Linked DNA regions of Homo sapiens: all the other regions are linked to region 1. The links are contacts of gene promoters, found by promoter capture Hi-C in human tissues and cell types (Jung and others, 2019). All regions are on one chromosome and are shown on one strand. The core of a region is centred on a gene start or on the middle of the fragment in contact, and the rest is flanking DNA. Distances in the headings are between cores, read along the strand shown. Region 1 holds the start of ZNF486 (zinc finger protein 486). Region 2 has its middle 45 kb from the start of ZNF682. Region 3 has its middle 47 kb from the start of ZNF93.

The links. Contacts are between HindIII fragments. The study calls those that stand out against the background at their distance.
Region 2: a fragment that was not itself captured here is called in contact with the fragment with the promoter of ZNF486 in region 1 in 1 of the 25 tissues and cell types used here (mesendoderm cells).
Region 3: a fragment that was not itself captured here is called in contact with the fragment with the promoter of ZNF486 in region 1 in 1 of the 25 tissues and cell types used here (H1 embryonic stem cells).

The regions. Positions count from the first base shown.
Region 1 is chr19:20,165,815-20,168,841 of GRCh38, forward strand. It overlaps ZNF486 (zinc finger protein 486), which reads left to right and starts at 1,400. Exons shown (of 4, transcript NM_052852.4): 1 at 1,400-1,546. The coding sequence starts at 1,517. All of the region lies in intron 5 of LOC105372310 (a long non-coding RNA gene), which reads right to left. RefSeq lists an enhancer at 1,982-2,923. The HindIII fragment of the contact is 10,632 bases long and covers 1-3,027 here.
Region 2 is chr19:19,993,451-19,996,313 of GRCh38, forward strand. It overlaps the pseudogene BNIP3P12 and a transcript of ZNF682 not described here. Among named protein-coding and RNA genes, the nearest start is that of ZNF682, 45 kb to the right of the region's middle. The HindIII fragment of the contact is 4,940 bases long and covers 1-2,863 here.
Region 3 is chr19:19,946,099-19,949,049 of GRCh38, forward strand. It overlaps the pseudogene BNIP3P12. Among named protein-coding and RNA genes, the nearest start is that of ZNF93, 47 kb to the left of the region's middle. The HindIII fragment of the contact is 6,290 bases long and covers 1-2,951 here.

The sequences.
Region 1 (3,027 bases), core at 150-2,649:
AGAAGCTAAGAACCTTGATAAAAGGTTAGAGGAACTGCTAACTAGAATAACCAGTTTGGAGAGGAACATAAGAGGATGAGATGCATGAATTCACAGAAGTAGGCCTCAGAAGATGGTTAATAACAAACTCTGCTGAGCTAAAGAAACATGTTCGAACCCAATTTGAAGAAGCTAAGAACCTTGATAAAAGGTTAGAGGAACTGCTAACTAGAATAAACAGTTTGGAGAGGAACATAAATGACCTGATGGAGCTGAAATGTTTGGCATGAGGCCCAGTCACTAGGGCCCTTTGCGACTGGGCTCAAGGAACACAAAAACGTTATCTTGTTTTTCAATAACTAACATATAGGAATAGATTGAAACAGAGATTTCTCTGAAATGACACTACATGAATGCCTCAATGAATGCCTCAAGGGGGTCACACAACCGGTTCTGAGACTTGGTGACCATTGTTTGTGTCTGTGTTCAATTTATTTCAAAATTAATATTTAACTTTTCCTCCACAAATTCCCCTGTCTTGATGAATGGGCTCTGTCTAGGCAAAAGGCCTGTCTTTATGAATCAGCTCTGTCTAGACAAAAGGCAAGGTAAAACCCTTGGGCTGTTACACAACCTCCGCCTCCTGGGTTCAAGCGATTCTCTTGCCTCAGCCTCCGGAGTAGCTGGGACTACAAGTGCACACCAGCACACCCAGATAATTTTTTGTATTTTTAGTAGAAATGGGGTTTCACCATGTTGGCCAGGCTGGTCTTGAACTCCTGACTCAAGTTATCCGCCCACCTTGGCCTCCCAAAGTGCTGGAATTAGAGGCGTGAGCCACTGCGCCTGGTTCTAAATGATTTCTATTTCCTGTAACAATTTGAAATTACTTAAAGGTTGTTTCAAATTGAAAAAAAGAATGTAGATAAAATATAAAAAGTTAAAAAAATTACAAGTGATTATGAAATATATGTGTAAATCTCGAGAGGTCAAAAGTGACAAATCTGATTTATATATAAGGTTTTATTAAAATTAGCTTTAGTATTGATAATACACTATTACCAAAGTAAAAGTTGATTTTCTAACAAAAATTTTATGTATTATTAATATGACAGCAAAATACTTCTGTTCACCTTTTGAATACATGCAAAAAGAGAGAGAGTAAAAAAGAGATAGAATTTTCCCTTGCTCTAGGGTGGGCCTGGCTCAGCTCAGGGAGGAAGCCCTGCCTGAAAAGGCTGCAGCTTAGGCTGTTACTCTTTCATCACTCAGCCCAGCATCTGATCACATCCTCTGTCACTCAGGGACTGAGTGGGCGGGGCCTTAAGCATTATCCAATCAGAGACGCTGGGCTGGAAACCGTCCAATCAGGCAGGCAGCTGGAGCAAAGAGGACGGCTTCCGGGTTTGGCGCGGCCTTTGTCTCTCGCTGCATCTGGAGCTCTAGGTCGCCTCTTCGCTACTCTGTGTCCTCTGCTCCTAGAGGCCCACCCTCTGTGGCCCTGTGTCCTGTAGGTATTGGGAGATCCACAGCCAAGATGCCGGGACCCCTTAGAAGCCTAGAAATGGTGAGAGTGCCCATTGGACATCCTGAGAGAGGGGAGGGACTGGTTGATGGGAAGTGGCTGTGGAGGGACTCAGGCCTCCCCGTAGTCAGCTCCACAATCTGCGTCCGGACTTCTCCTTACCCAGCTCGGCCTCAGTCCCCTTCAGCCATAAGATGGTGGCTGCGCTGACAGCCGGTCCCGGGGCGTCCTGTCTCTTCCCTGCGCAGTGACCGTGCCCTGGCCTGGCGCCCTCTCTGTGCAGCAGCTCTCCACCCGCAGCTTCGGGTCTCTCCCAGATGGTGCGGGAACCACGAGAAGGTCATCAGGGGAGAATCTTGACTCGGGGTGCGGGTTCACGATTCGGAAGAGCTTTGGTCCGTGGGGTTCACAGTTTCTCTTTTCTTTTGTTAAAAATTTATGGGGCCGGGCGCGGTGGTTGACGTCTGTAATCCCAGCATTTTGGGAGGCGAAGGCTGGCGGATCACTTGAGGTAAAGGGTTGCTAGGACAACTAAATTCCTCTTCAAAGACTCAACTTCCTGATCAGAAGTTGTAAAAGTTGTAAAACAACCCTACCCCTTTTTCTCCCTTTTCCTTTTCTCGCAAATCGCTCGTTTATCCTATTTGGAAAAAGTTTGGGTCTAAGCCAACCGGGATCAGCTTAGATTGTGCGGTCTGACCCCAGCCAATAGGGGAAGGACACAAAAACAAAAACTACGTTGGGGTTAAAAACCCATTCCTGGTCGGGCGCGGTGGCTCACGCCTGTAATCCCAGCATTTTGAGAGACCTAGGCGGGAGGATCTTGTGGTCAGGAGTTCTAGACCATCCTGGCCAACACCGTGAACCCCGTCTCTACTAAAAATACAAAAATTAGCCAGGTGTGGTGGCAGGCACCTGTAATCCCAGCTACTTGGGAGGCTGAGGCACGAGAATTGGTTGAACCCAGGAGGCGGAGGTTGCAGTGAGCTGAGACCGCGCCATCGTACTTAAGTGTGCGTGACAGAGCAAGACTCCTTCACACACACAAAAGAAGGGCCAGGCGCAGTGGCTCACGCCTGTAATCCCAGCACTTTGGGAGGCCAAGGCAGGCGGATCACCTGAGTTCGGGAGTTCGAGACCGGCCTGACTAACATGGAGAAACCCTGTCTCTATTAAAAATACAAAATTAGCTGGGCTTGGTGGCGCATGCCTGTAATCCCAGCTACTCGGGAGGCTGAGGCAGGAGAGTTGCTTGAACCCGGGAGGAGGAGGTTGCGGTGAGCCGAGATCGTGCCATTGCACTCCAGCCTGGGCAACAACAGCGAAACTCCGTCTCAAAAAAAAAAAAAAGTAAGAATCTTAAAATTTTCTTCCTTTATGTAAACACTGTTTGAGTAATTTCACTGGATTTTTCAAACACTTAGTTTCAAAAACCAAGTGAATAACACTGACATGGAAATTAAAGCTTGAACCTAGTAATTCCAAGCTAAGGCTAATATGAAGTCTGCAAAAGGAGGGGGTTA
Region 2 (2,863 bases), core at 126-2,625, 170 kb before region 1:
TTGTTTTCCCCAAACCTCTTTATTCCCAATTAACCATTTGCTTTGTTGCCTGGGGCATCCAGGTAGTAAGACCATTTGGTATTGACCAAGAGTTGGTATAGAAGTGAAAAATCCCTCTGGTCTCCTTCTGAATAGCTCAGGGGAACCGCTACTAGTTCAGCTAACTGGCTGCTCCCACCCCTTCCTTCATCAGAAATGCTTTTGTTTTTAATAGGATTATAAGCCACAGCCTTCCAGCATTGATTCCCACCAATGTATTTGGTGGATGCATCAGTAAACCAAGCATGTTTCTGATCCTCTGGGCTTAGTTCTTTAAAGGATTTGCCCCATTGGGTGGGGGAGGTTTCCTTCCCTATCTGCAGGACTTGCTCGGTGGTTTCCTGAGCTGGGAGATTTTGTACATCCTTATGTAAAAGTGATACTCACTTTGGTTTTGACTTAGCCTGGTCTTGTATGTACCATGTCCATTTTATGATGCTACTTTCTTGGACATGTCCTATCTGATGGGTTTTGGGGGAACTCAAGTCCCAAGTCATAATAGGAATTTCGGGCCTCATAAAGACATCATGGTTGAAGCAGAGGTGTTCCATTTCCAGCAAAGCCCAATAGCAAGCTAACAATTGCTTCTCGAAAGGGGTATAAGCTTTTCTGGCCTCTGGCAGTTTCTGGGTCCAAAACCTGAAAGGTACCCTCTTCCCATCTTGTTTCTAAGGCTCCAATTAGCCTGTTGATCTAGGACAGTTACTTGCAGTTCTCCTGGCCCATCCTGTATGGACCATAGATCCAGGGCCAGTTGCACCGCTTGTTTATCTTGTTCAGAAGCCATGCTGTCTGTCTCTCCCCAATGAAAGTCATAGTGTTTTCTAGTGGCTGCATGCAGAGGTTGTAAAATATTACTCAAGTGAGGAATATGATGTCTCCAGAATCCAGAGATGTCAATAAATGTCTGGGCCTCCTTTTTAGTGGTAGGGGTTGCAAATTCTAGTATTTTAGCCCCTTTACCTTTTGTAAGATGGACTATATCTCTGCATTCCATAGGATGCCAAGGTATTTTACAGTTTGTGCAGGTCCTTGAATTTTGCTAAGCTTAATTTCCCATCCTTGAGATAGGAGCTGGGTTTTTACCTGCTCCAAGCCCCAGCAAAGTAGTTCTTCAGTTTTAACCTGACCGAGTCATTCTGACAGCTGCTTTTTTTCAGCAATAGGGTGATAGCTTTGAGCCTGATCAGTCAAGATATAGGCCTGGCATTGGGCCAGGGCCAGTCTGGAAATCACACTGGCATTTTCCTTTTCCAACTTACATTTCTCTTATAGCAACCAGCCCGTATCTTGACACATTAACTTATAAGCAGTAAGCAAACACCATCCACTCTGGGAGATCCCTCAGCATCTCCTTTGCTGACTGGAATCTCCTGCAGCACTTCCCGCACAGTCAAAGGTTTAAATTGCACTAATTTAGATTCTCAGTTCTCACAAAGGCCAGTTCCCCTTGACCATTCAGTTGCCAAGGGGGAAAACTGGGGGAGTTCCCATCCTGAGACATGGGAAGTCCCTGAGCCTCCAGCCCCATCCTTCTGGCCAAAAAGCGGCATACTTTTGTTTCCAAATACTGTTTGTGACACCAAAAATGTTCTGTGCAGGAAACCCGCGAGGGGAGAAGAAAAGACCCACACACAATACTTTTAAGGGTAAGAAGTTTTATACCACGTAAATGGCAATGCAGATATAATAAACAAATAATATAATAAGCAAATCAATATAATAAGCAGATTGCAGACATAATAAGCAAATTGCAATGGGAAGAGGAGAATGGAAAAGGTTTACACTCACCAGACTGTATATATTTACACCACCAGACTGGGAAGAAACAACCTGGGCTCCAGAGTCGGCCACTCATCCGCGCACAGATGAGGAGAGGTCTCATGAAGCTTTGGCGCTATCTGGGACCCTAGCTCTTTTGTAATGAGTTTTTTGGCATGAGGCTTAGTCATGAGGGCCTTTTACGAATGGGCTCAAGGAACGCAAAAAGGTCAACTTGTTTTTGTGCTTGACTATTGTTTTTCAATAATGAATGTATAGGAATAGATTGAATTAGAGATTTCTCTGAAACAGCGCGGGATGAATGCCTCAAGGGGCTCACACAACCTGTTCCAGGACTTGGTGACCATTGTTTGTGTCCAGATTCAATTAAGTTCAAATTTAATATTTAACTTTACCTCCATACCAGACTATGGAGGATTCACCACCAGAGTGGGCAGTAACAGGCTGGGCTCCAGAGTTGGCCACCCATCTGTGAACACATGAAGAGGAAAAAAAAAAAAAAGTGAAAAACATTATCCCACAGTTTGCAAAATATATTACATTTAAACAGTTGTAAATACATGAACATAACATCTCAGTCATAATCAAAATTAAGTATCTGACAACACACTCGAAAGTTTGGGAGAAATAGAAAAGTGTTTGTGTCTTCCCCAGGCCCACAGTTCCAGTGCCCTGTGCTCCCTCATTGTCATGGGGTTGCCATGGGCCCCACAGGATATGGGAGGCACAGAGCAGATGGTGGCTGAAGGTGGGGTGTCTTGTGGGACCAGCTTCAAGATCAGAGACCTTGGTTCATTGTATTGAAATCAGCCAGCTCAGGAAAAGAGACCTTGCTGCCTCAAGCTCTATGTCCATCTGCATTAGCGATGTAAGGAGGCTTGAGCACCCATGGGCACACAAACCCATCCCACTCCAATATTTCATCAACTATTGAGGAGTCTGAATCCATGTTCTTGAGGAGCATATGCTTCTGCAGTTACAACCACTATGGAAAACAGTATGGAGATTCCTTAAAGAACTAAAGGTTATCTACCATTTGTTC
Region 3 (2,951 bases), core at 403-2,902, 220 kb before region 1:
TTGCTAAATACCAGCTTCTAGCAGTGGCTATCTGCCAACCTCGCCATAGTACCCAAGGGCACAAAACACCCAATAGCATTAACTCTCCCAGGCCTTTTTTAAAGTGAAGCAAAGAAGGCCACTGGGCATGAGCATGCCCTAATCCATGAATGCCAAAAAGCCCTTGCCCAGTCTGCCAGCAGACAGGCCACTGGAAGTCTGACTGTCCTGTTAACAGGCAGACAGAAAAGCCTGTACTGCAAAACCACCACCCTTTTGGAGAGACAAAAGGTGAAGTATCACTTGCATTCCCACAGCTCCTTAGTCTAGCCACTGAAGACTGACGAGGCCCAGGGCCCCTGGCCCCATCTACCTTCACTGCATCAGAGCCCAGGGTAACTCTACTAGCAGCAGGTAAGCCGATCTCTTTTTTAAATCAATACTGGGGCCACCTACTCAACTATGCCTGAATTCTCAGGACCAACTCATCCCTCCCAGGTCTCAGTTGTAGGGGTTAATGGACTCATCTCGAGTCCACGCACCACCAAGCCTCTTACCTGTTCCCTATTTCATACCGTTTTCTCACACCCTTTTCTTATCATGCCCTGTTACCCTAACCCCATCCTAGGCAGAAACCTCCTAACCAAATTAAAGGCTTCCATTACCTTCCTCTGTTCCCCACAACCAGACTCTCACCTACTCCTTTCTGCTACTGAACCAGCCCTGGGCCCCTCTCCCCAGTATCCACTCTCCTCTTCTCTGGTTAATACAATAGTGTGGGATACTACTACCCCTTCCCTAGCTACACACCACGATCCTATCAAAATCCAGCTAAAAGACGCCTCCAAATTCCCTAACATCTCTCAATATCCCATCTCAGTAGCTCATCAAAAAGGCTTACAGCCCATCATAAACAAACTCCTTTTGCGCAGCCTTCTCAGTCCAACTCATTCTCCATATAATACCCCCATAATTCCTGTTAAGAAGGCAAATGGCTCCTATCAACTAGTCCAAGACCTCTAGGCTATCAATCAGGCAGTCCTTCCCATCCACCCAATAGTTCCCAACCCTTATACACTCCTTTCCCTTATCCCTTCCAACACAACCTACTACACTGCCATTGATCTGAAAGATGCCTTTTTTGCTATTCCCTTTCACCCTGACTCCCGAGATCTTCTTACTTTCACCTGGACTGACCCTGAAACCCTCCAGTCTCAACAACTTACTTGGAAAGTCCTCCCTCAAGGCTTTAGAGATAGTCCCCATTTCTTTGGGCAAGCTCTGGCCCAAGACCTCACATCGCTAAACCTCTCCCCTTGCTGGCTCCTTCAGTATGTGGATGACCTCCTCCTCTGCAGCCCCTCCCTAAAAGACTCTCAAACCCACACTACTGCCCTTCTAAACTTCCTTGCTGATAAAGAATATAGGGTTTCCCCCTCTAAGGCACAACTCTCCACCCCAACAGTAACTTAGGAGTCCAACTCTCCCTCAGAGCCCAAGCCATGACCCCAGCACGGGAGATAGACAGTCTACGTCCACCCTTCTCCAAAAGAGAAATCCTTTCTTTCTTAGAACTAGCAAGATCCCTAATTTTGCCCTCCTAGCCTGCCCTCTTTATGAGGCAGCCAAAGGCCCTCCAAATGAGCCCCTAAATCCTTCACACAACATAATCCCCAGCTTCCTCAAACTAAAGGCAGCTCTTGTAACTGCTTCTGCTCTATCTTTGCCCAACATCTCTCAGCCTTTCACCCTCTACACAGCTGAAAACCATGGAATAGCCCTTGGCGTCCTCGGTCAACAAAAAGGAAGTCCTCCTTCCTTCACTCCTATAGCTTACCTTTCTAAACAACTAAACAACACCATCTGAGGATGGCCAGCCTGCCTCAGAGTCCTAGCAGCAGCCACCATGCTAGCTTTAGAAAGCAAAAAGCTAACATTCAGCCAAGACATCACCATATATAGCCCACATAATCTACAAGATCTTCTCTCCTCCCAAGTACTGAGCACCTTTTCTCCTTCCCACATCCAACTACTCCATGCTCTTTTTCTTGAGAATCCTGAATTCTGCCTCTCCAAAAATGCTCCCCTCAGTCCTGCATCTCTACCTCCAGTGTCTTCCTCTTCTCCCATCCACTCCTGTACTGAAATCCTTGATCACCTGCTGCATCATTTTCCCAATATCTCCCCGGAACCTCTTCTTGATCCTGATGACCAGTTATTTATAGATGGCTCCTCCTCCAAGTCCGTCAATTCCAATAAAATTGCTGGATATGCTTGACAGAGTAGTTAAAGCTAAGCCCCTACCCCCTGGAACCTCCTCCCAAAAGGCAGAACTCATAGCTCTCACTAGGGCCCTAACCCTCTCAAAAGGCAAACGGGTCAACATTTTTACAGACTCTAATTATACCGATCACATTCTTCATTCTCGCACCACCATCTGGCAGAAAAGAGATTCCTTACTGCCAAAGGAACCCCCGTTAAAAACGGCCCCCTTATTTACCAGCTCCTCCAGGCTGCATGCCTCCCAACTTAGGCAGGGGTTATATACTGTCAGGGACGTGAAACAGTATGAGACAAAATATCAAAAAGGGAATAGAAAAGCCAACGAGGCTGCAAAAGAAGCCTCCCTCTCATCAGCCCCTGCCCCTGTCCTCCTTGTTACCCCAGCAATCCAACCCAGGTACTCCCCCACCAAGAAGGCTTTGCTACTACAGCAAGAAGCCTCCTTTCAAGGGGACTGGATAATCAAAAGTCAAAAGCTCATCCTCCCCCAAGAACAAACCAAATAAATTCTAACATCTCTTCACCAATCCTTCCATATCGGTGCACACTTCCTGTACCTACTCCTTTGCCCTTATTTCTCCTCCCCCCACCTATTCATCTCACTAAGACACATAACCTCAAACTGTCATATATGCTCTGTTACTTCCTCCCAAGGGGCCCTCCGCTCTCCTCCTATTCCTACACATCAG